Regions from separate parts of the Homo sapiens genome. Here region 1 is linked to region 2. The links are contacts of gene promoters, found by promoter capture Hi-C in human tissues and cell types (Jung and others, 2019). All regions are on one chromosome and are shown on one strand. Each heading gives the region's core, a stretch centred on a gene start or on the middle of the fragment in contact. The rest is flanking DNA. Distances are from core to core; before and after follow the strand shown. Region 1 has its middle 23 kb from the start of MTX2. Region 2 holds the start of HOXD1 (homeobox D1).

The links. The method cuts DNA at HindIII sites, captures the fragments that hold promoters and counts their contacts. A contact is called where the count stands out against the background at its distance.
Region 1: a contact is called between a fragment that was not itself captured here and the fragment with the promoter of HOXD1 in region 2, in 1 of the 25 tissues and cell types used here (hippocampus).

The regions. Positions count from the first base shown.
Region 1 is chr2:176,243,641-176,248,244 of GRCh38, reverse strand. No RefSeq gene overlaps it. Among named protein-coding and RNA genes, the nearest start is that of MTX2, 23 kb to the left of the region's middle. The HindIII fragment of the contact is 3,213 bases long and covers 1-2,856 here.
Region 2 is chr2:176,186,439-176,191,003 of GRCh38, reverse strand. HOXD1 (homeobox D1) reads right to left here and starts at 2,336. Exons shown (of 2, transcript NM_024501.3): 1 at 1,551-2,336; 2 at 97-1,196. The coding sequence starts at 2,202. The coding sequence ends at 862. HAGLR (HOXD antisense growth-associated long non-coding RNA) reads left to right here and starts at 2,046. Exons shown (of 3, transcript NR_033979.2): 1 at 2,046-2,190. It overlaps MIR7704 (microRNA 7704), which reads right to left and starts at 2,161; the gene lies at 2,103-2,161. The HindIII fragment of the contact is 12,505 bases long and covers 1-4,565 here.

The sequences.
Region 1 (4,604 bases), core at 1-2,500, 58 kb before region 2:
TATGTTTGACCTCAAATTGACCACATAGGCTAATCAAAGGTTCCCAATCAGGAGTCCCAAGACGGCTGCTGAAACGAGGGCCTCCAGTGATGAAGCTGGTCAGAAAAACTAGTCTAATCCAATGTTATTTTGAAAATGAAGAAACATAGTTGCAAAGAGCTGCAATTATTTTTCCTAGGTCACGTGACTGGTTAGTGATAGAGTCTAGAAACCTAGTTTACTGACCTCTACCTTGAAGATCCTTACACAACACCAAAGTATTTGGAGACTGATACTTCAGCCATATTACCTGTATAAAAGACATACATACTTGACAACTTTTCCTTTCTGCTTTCAATAATGATATTTTGAGTTCAAAATCCTTTTAATAATTAAACTAGACAGCGACTGGATAAACATTGTTCTTTGGGTTAACCAAAATAACTTTGTACTTAAAAATACTTTTTATGGTTATCACCACTGAGGCTTAACTACAAATAAAGTGAAGTAAAAGAAAGCTTCCATAATCAAATTGCTTCCACAATTCTATCCTTGCTATGACCTCCAACAAGGACAAAGATGCTGTGAACTACTAAATCCTCCAAAATAGTTCTTTAATGTAGGTATGTCTTCTTTGATGTTGTAAAATTATCATGCTTCATTTTGTTTTGAACATTCTAGAAAGAATTCAACTGTCTTAATATAGAAGATGCTTTTTACATGGAGTATGCTATGATACCCTCTCAAAAAGAGAGTTTATTAAGTAATTGAGCATACTTAGCTTTCATTGCATGCTCACGAAGTTCTGGTAATGGGAATAATCACTGCCAAAATAAAAAGCTATTTATTTCAGATCTATTCATGCTTTTAAGATTTTGGGGGTACTATCTCAATTTTTTAAATGACATTTAGTATATGAATTAGCTTTATTGCTCTCTGCTTTCCCCCATCTTTTAAACTAACAAAAAAATATGAATTTTAATTTTTAGACAATTTATTCAGCCTTGCTATTGTTATATCTCCAGGGACTAAATTTACATTTTGAAAAAATACCATGATGTGCAAATGTGCATACCCTATTCAGCCAACATATCATAGATACTGTATAGTAACATCTGGGAATATTAAACTTTGCCTTTACTGGCAACCCAATTGGCATCTTGAATTTACAGTGAAGATGTTTTATACTGATGTGTTTTGGAAATCTTTGAAGTATTCTCAAGACAGTATTCTGAGGTTTCTGCAGTGGTCCACTTGAGCCTTTTGAAGTTCCCTATACAATAGGATACATACATATATTTTCCAAAACATGTTTTAGTGGGAAAAGAAGAAAAGTTCAAGTTGGCGGTATAATAAGCTTCCCCGAGTTGTCTGAACCGAATTCCTTTTTGGCACTATTGTTTTGGCAGTCAGCAAGCTTTATGAGACCAGTCTGATAAAACCGTTCCTCTTCCCAGACTGCTTTGTAGATGCTAAATCATTTTAATGCCTCATATTTATGAAGCACTCATATTTCTAAAGTACAGATATAAAATTTTAAATTTACCTCTGAGCATCTGATATTTCAGCTGTGCTTTATCCAAGGGTGATACCCCACAATGGTGGTCACTGCCTGTGTGTGAGGAAATGCTAATGAGCCCACTGTGAAATGATGAGTCCTTCCACAGTGTTCGCCCTGAGCACTGTGCTTTCATTCACAGCCTCAGCCACTTCTGACGGTGCTTGCTCCTGTTTGCACCACTAGCTCCTCCACTGGAGCACAGTGTGGCTTTTGTTTAAAAAGACCTGCCTCGGCCATCTGTTGCTGGTGGTTGCCAGTGGTCCACTACAGTGCTGCAGGCTTACACCATGGATTTCAGAACATTTCTAAAGCACAGTTTTTATCTCCCCTATTTCAGTGTGGTGTCGTTAGCACATAGAAAGCACATAGCTCTGGAGACAACACATGTTCCCAGATGTAACTCCCAGCTCCATCACTTACTAGCTGTAAATCTTTGGAAAAAATCTCTTTGACTCTCAGTTTTCCTTCTCCTCTGGTGGAGTGGCGATACCTTCCTAATTAGACCGTGGTGAGGATGAAATACAACAATGGGTGTAGAACACTTTTCATATGTCAGACCTCTGTTACAGTGTGCAGTTGCCACTCTCTGAACTCCCTTGGATTAGCCAAATGTTAAAATGCACACTGCTTCAATTCTTTTTTAATGTAAAATACACATAACATAAAATTTGTCATTTTAATCATTTTTAAGTGTTCAGTGTCATTAAACACATTCACATTGTTGTGTTACCATCACCACCATCCATCTCTTTTTCATCATCCCAAACTGAAACCCGGGGCCCATTAAACACTGATTCCCCATTCCTCCCTTGTCCCAGCCCCTGGTAACTACCATTCTAATTTCTGTCTTTATGAATGTGACTATTCTTAGGTATGTCGTATAAGTGGAATCATATAATATTTGTCCTTTCTCTTCAATTCTTATAAGTTAGCTATGATTCAGGAATTATTGATTACCTTGCCTTGGCACTAAATTATTAACATTGCCATATATATAATGTATTCAAGCTGTTAGTATCTGTGTGTGTATGTACTTACTATCCTTCTAATGGGATATTAGATGGCAGGATGATGATGGTGGTGGTGGTGGTGTATCTTCCACTGTTATCTCCCCAGCATCCTCCTTTGCATCCTATGGAGCAATAATTTCACTATTAGCAAAATCTTCTCATCCTCTGTCTCTTCACAAGATCTGCCTCACCTCTTGCCTATGGAGAACTTAAGAACATTCTACACCCCCAGCAAGCTACTGCAGCCCTCTGGAGTGGAGGCTATTCATTTTGCATCTCCCATATTCAGTGGGCCCAGAGGCAATATTGGCATTGTCTTAATATTTCTGTTTTTAAATGCATTACTTTTTTATCTTTATGCAAAAACTCTTCATCCTTTAGGTATCTTGTAAACTGAGATTAGCTAATAAAAGTTGCTAAGGCATTGGATGTGGGGTATGAGAAAAAAAGTGATGTGAATCATGATGCCCAGGTTTTAGGCTTTAGAAGGATGGAGTTACTACTGACTAAAATAGAACTGAAAAGGTGGTTTGAAGTAGAAGGAATACATGGAGCTATGTCAGGACATGTTAAATTTGAGATACTCAGATGCTCATCAGATAGCCAATGGGAGATGGCAACTAGGCAGCCTGGGGGTCAGCGAAGAGGTAAAGGAATTTGAAATTCATCAGCCTCTAGATGGTAAAGTCGTGAAGTTAAATGAGATCATGTAGGGAATAAGTGTAGACAGGAAAGAGGAGAGGGCCAAGAATGGACACGCCAACATTTCCAGGTCAGCCAGAGGAAACTGAAAAGAAAAGGCCAGAAAAGTGGGAGGAAATGCAAGCTAGAACGGTATCCTGGAAGACAGGAAAAGAAAGTTTTTGAAGGAAGAAGGTCATCAATTGTCGAATGTTGCTGACAGGTCAAGAAAGATGAGGACTGAAAAATGTCCATTGGGTTTGGAAATCCGGATATCACTGATGACCTTAAAAAGAGCAGTTTTAGTGCAGTGGTGGGAGTGAAAACCTGCCTTAAGTGGGTCCATGAGAGACTTATGGAGAGAAATTGGAGACAGCTAGTATAAACAACTAATTTAAAGAGTTTTGCAGGAAAGGGACAGAGAAAAAAGTGTGCTTCTTGGAGGAGGAGGGAGGGCCATGAGAGGTTTTCTCATATGGGAGGAATAGCAGCAGCATGATTGTATGCTGATGGGAATGGGGTCATAGAGAGGAGGAAGAGCTGCCCCAGCAGCAGCCTTGCATTGAAGGGCATGACACTAGCATTCAGGCAAAGGGATTGGCCTTTGCTAGGAGCATGGCGGTTTTTCCATAAGTAATGTAAGAAAAGGTAGTGCATGTGGGCACAGATACTGGTAGATAAGTAGAAATGCCAGGGAGAGCTTATGAAAGTTCTCTTGTAATTCCGCCAAGTGTCTTGGTGAAGCAAAATCATCAGCTGATAGTGATGAAGGCTAAGGAAGTGATGGAAGTTTGAGAAGAGAGAAGGTACAAAATATTCTAGTCACTTAAAGCAGTAGAACTCCAGATATATTCTGCAGACCAGTGTTTTTTGTTTTTTGTTTTTTTTTTGCAAATTATTTGTTATCTTTCCATGAAAAGATGAGTTCAGAAATTAAGAATATGTATTTAGAAGATTCCGTAGCAACTGGACAGAGTAAAATTAGAGACCCATATTTTTATGTCTTTATTTCATTTTTGTTGTAGCCCATTTTTGCTGTAATTTACCAAAGTATTATACCAAGATGGATTTAAAATTATAAGAAGCTTGTCTCTCTCACTATGGATAATTTGAGAAATGCTGGTTTAAAGATGGACCTAAGCAAATATAGGATAATTTCTGGGAAGCATTAAAGGCCCAGTAGATGTTAGTAATCTTAAATTTGAAATAGTCAACATAGTCATTTTTGTCTTGTCTTATTCAATGGCACAGATCAATTTTTATTAGGAGAGTGGGATTTAAGCAAGGTTTTAGTTTCTCCAGGTGAGTATGGTAAAGGGAGAAAGGACAAGGGTGTCAGAGTGTAGCAAGGATTCAGTTATAACAGTGGTTTC
Region 2 (4,565 bases), core at 1,087-3,586:
TCTCATAGCAGAATCAAGAAAATTCAAATACAGGAAACTGAATCAACTTTAAAGAAAGAGAATCATTATTAAAGAGTGTAAGAAAAGCAGAGAGCAGCAGATTCTATAATTTTTATTACAAAAAAAACCCTTTACATGCTATGACATTAAATGTCACTTATAAGGTCATTGCAAGCAAATCTTTTTAAAAAATATACATACTGTATATATTTACATTCAAGTTTGAATAATATTTGTCAAGATATAGTTCAGATTCTACTCTTTACCCATTCTGTGGATTTGTTCATCTAGTAACTAAACAGCGATTGTATCATCACTCAGGCACATAGAGAGGTAGAAACCGCTTTTTTAAAGAAAAAAAAACTGGAGTGCAAATGTGAAGATCACTGAAGCAGCTTAGCTACATCAAGGAGACCCTAACTAGCTTTGGTCATCTCAAAAAGCTGAATATATGTAGCCTTGTCCTTTAAATTAAAACCAGAAAAACTTTGGGCAGGTGCTCTTCTGAGCACATCAGAGTGCTGACAGAACTCAGCAACTAATGGTCTGCCACTCTGCAACGCGAATTGCACATGACTAAGTGAGGCAAAGATAGCAGCGGAGCTGGGCTGGCAGCTGGGCACCTTTTCCCTGATAAGACACAAATCATAACCAAACAAGTGGCTTACAAGACAGTCAATTAATATCTGGACATATAGTCTGGAACTCGGAAGCCAACTAAAGTACTTCATTTCCCAAGTGAAATCCCTATTCATTTTTGTTCTCCCACCTCCATCCCAAACTGAGCTCCTAAGTCTAGATAGGGATGGGGGTCGCCTGGGACTTCTGCAGGCCACAGTTTTTCGGCCCCAAGTACCGGCCTCACGAAGGCTCTTGGGACTGAGAAGGGCTGCCGGGGTTCTTGATAAACTTAGTGGGGGTTGTTCCAGAGAGGGGAAGTTGGAGGGGAGCCACAGGAATGGCCGTGGCCAGAAGCCCTTCTCGTTCCCTTTTCTTCTGTTTCATCCTGCGGTTCTGGAACCAGATTTTGACTTGCGTGTCATTCAGGTGCAAGCAGTTGGCTATCTCGATGCGCCGGGCTCGAGTTAAGTACTTATTGAAATGAAACTCTTTTTCCAGTTCTGTCAGTTGCTTGGTGCTGAAATTCGTGCGGATCGCGCTGGAGGGGCTAGCGGCCCCATACTCGGCGAGTTTGCCTGCAACGTAAAGACAGGGCGTCAGCCAGGCCTGAGGCCGGGGACAGAATGTGGGTGAGCAGTGGAGCTAGTTAGAATCAAAGTCCCAGCGCAGCCCTCCTGGGTCCCTAGGAACAGAATTTGTACCAGGAGAAGTTCCACGGAGAGCTCCTTCCTGAAATTTTCTCAATGCCTGGCACATTTTCCGAATCTGTACTCGAGGCAGACTCCATGGAATTCGCCCGGGAACGCGTCTCCTCCACAAAACCCAAACCGCTGTCTGGAAAGGCAGCGACACCACGCTCCCAGCGCATTTCCGCGGGGGAGGCTCCGTCCCCAACCCCAGGTGGCCCCATCCAAGGCCCGCGGACTTACCTTTCTTAGAGGCATTCCTCTTCACTTTCATCCACTCGAACGTGCTGAAGGCGGCAGGGAGGCCGGAGGCGGGAGAGACGGACTTGGGGTAGGTGCCTGGGGCCGGGGATGCGGTCTGGAAAGCACCAGGGTGGCCGTCGGCTGACGCTTTGAGACAAGCCGGAAAAGGGCCGGGTTCGCCGAAGGCCGCGTAATCCACCTGGCCGCTGAGGAGGAAAGAGCCGCCGCCCGAGAAGACGGCCGAGGTGGCGTAGTGGACGTGAGACCCGCCGTCGTCGGCCGCCCGCCCCAGCACGCCCGGGAAGTCGTACGCCGGCCCGGACCCCAGGAAGCCGTAGTCCGCGCCCCCAGCTGCCGCGGCAGGTGCGGCACCAGGTTCGTAGGCCCCCTCCAGGGTGCACTGCGCGTACTGGGGCGCGGCCGGAGGCGGTACGGACGGCCGCGCGGGGGCGGCCGGGGGCGAAGGCGAGGGTCGGGCGGCGGCCAGGGGCAGACAGCTGACGAAGGCGCCGTCGCCGTTGCCCAGAGGGAAGGCGGGCTGCAGAGCCACGGGCCGGGCGTCGGAGCGGCAGAACTTGGGTGCCAAGCTGAGCACGTCGCCGCCGACCCCGCCGCTGCTGCTGCATGACACGTACTCCAGGTAGGAGCTCATGGTTCGGGCCCCACCTTTCTGAGGGCGCAGGCCGGGGCCGGAGTACGGAGCCGGGCAGAGGCTGAGCAGGACTGCCGCCGTCTGCGCCGCTCCGCCAGCCCTCTCTACCCGAGCTGCCCTCTCCAACCCATGGCGAGTGAGCCGGAGGTAAATAGTGGCCTAATATACCGGCGGGGGCGGCCACGTGGCGCTGGCCGGCCAATGGGCGGCCTCTCCGCTCGGCCCGGTCGGCGCGCCGCTCCTCGCGCCTGCCCCGCAGCCAAGTTAGCCAAAGCAGCCCAGGGCCGCCGCCCAGCGCCCCCGAGCCCCGAGGAGAGCCGTCGCGACCGGGGGCTGCCTGGGCAAGGGCGGGGCGAGAGGGCAGAACGCCTGCTCTCGGACAGGTATTGGGCGAGGTGGGGGGAGAAAGGCAGGACTGGACGCTTGGGTGAGGGCCCGTGGATGCAGCGGGGCGAGCCGCTTCTGCTCTGGATCGTGGGGGGGGCTAGTCCCTCGAGGGCGGAGTGTGGGCGTCGCGGCATGGAAAAGGTTAAATGGGAGCGTGACGCGCGGCCGGTGGAGACTGCTCTTCGCCCACCTCCAGGACAGATAAAGTTATTCCTCTTCCCCTCTTCTGAGTCCTCTGCGCTTTCGGTTTGCTTGGCGCTGATGTTATCCCTCTTCTAAACCTAGAGCAGATGTTTGGTTTTTTCCTTTCTTCCCCCTTTCCTAGGACTCATGGAACTACATCTTATGCTGTGAGTGCTGTGTGCCTAGGGCGGGACAAAATTTTCACTTTTTGACTAGGCTTCCTTTTAACGTGACTTTGCAGCTTTCTTCTATCCCTCGCAATTTGTGGCGGCGTGATGAGGGCCAGTGTTGTAGTGCCAGATTTTGATAAAGTTTCTGCCTTGTGGGGTGGTTTAGCAGATTTTCCCCTCCGGCTGGGTTGTTGGAATAAAGAATCCAGAGTGGTGGTGGAACACTCCTTATGCTCCTTTCTGGGAGACTGGCACAGGCACCGGTGCGGCGCTTGCTTTCACTGAGGAGCTTGTCTGGAGGGCGCAAGGGCTTACCGGGGACGGGTGAGATCTCAGAGGTTTAGATGGACTTGTACCTCGAAGCAATTAGAGCTTCTGCTCCATCAGATAAGTGCTGCATCGTCTCTTGTGAGTGAAATCTGAGGGCTCACAATGTTAATGGGCTCACGTCTTTCCCTTGATAATATGGTTTTGTTTACTGAGTGTAGAGAGACGGGAAATAAAAGTGCAATTGCCACAGGAAATGAAGAGTAGAAAGGTTACAAAGACCAGCTTTACATTGACAAACTTTCCAACTTCCTTTAGTATTTCTTTTAATGTTCCCTTTTGAGGGGACTGTAGGAAAATTACAAATTAGATAAATAGAGGTTATTTACACACAGTAGTTATGAAAGAGGGTGGTTTCCTAAAACCCTGTGTGAATAAAGACTCTAAAGAGTCTACTCAGAGCTTATATCAAGTGCCCTTGAAAAGTTAATCTATTACAGCCTCTAAGTTATGGTAACCGAGGTTTTATCATTGTTTTACTGATTGACTTGTCATAAAAGAGCGATTGAGCTGTTGTTGCCTAAATTTCCACTCTGAGGAAGTCTTTAGAATAGGCGCCATCACAGCCCAGGGAGCCAGTTCCTTCCAGGGTTGTGGACTTGTGAATAAACAAAGCCCTACCAAAATGTGGACTACTGATGGACCCGAAGTTGCTGCAGGATGGGGGAGGGATGTCCCCAGGTTGAGGGGAGCCAGTAGAGGGTGGATGCCTAGGAATCAGCACAAAGTTAAAGAGGTCTGTGGTTCCTGCACTGCTGGAGTTCTTGAGTTTGATTGGAAATGGAATACCTGTGCTGAAAATAGCCCTTCAATCTTGATTTTGCTATTTCAGTTGTGCTATAGCCAGTCAGATAAGGTCCTAAATAATTTTTATTTATTTATTTATTTAATTTTTTTTTTTAAGTGCAGTGGCGCGATCTCGGCTCACTGCAAGCTCAGCCTCCCCGATTCACGCCATTCTTCTGCCTCGGCCTCCCGAGTAGCTGGTACTACAGGCGCCCACCACTATGCCCGGCTAATTTTTTGTATTTTTAGTAGAGACGGGGTTTCACCGTGTTAGCCAGGATGGTTTCGATCTCCTGACCTCGTGATCCGCCCGCCTCGGCCTCCCAAAGTGCTGGGATTACAGGCGTGAGCCACCGCGCCCGGCCCTAAATAATTTTTAAGAAGAGAAAAATAAAAGTTCTTCCCTAACACCCCAGTTAGGAAATGTTAGAGCTCTTCAGAGCTAGCTCAGCCTTAAAATGTAGACACGTTTCTTCACTGCTCTCCTGTGCCATTTATGCAAAAGTAACA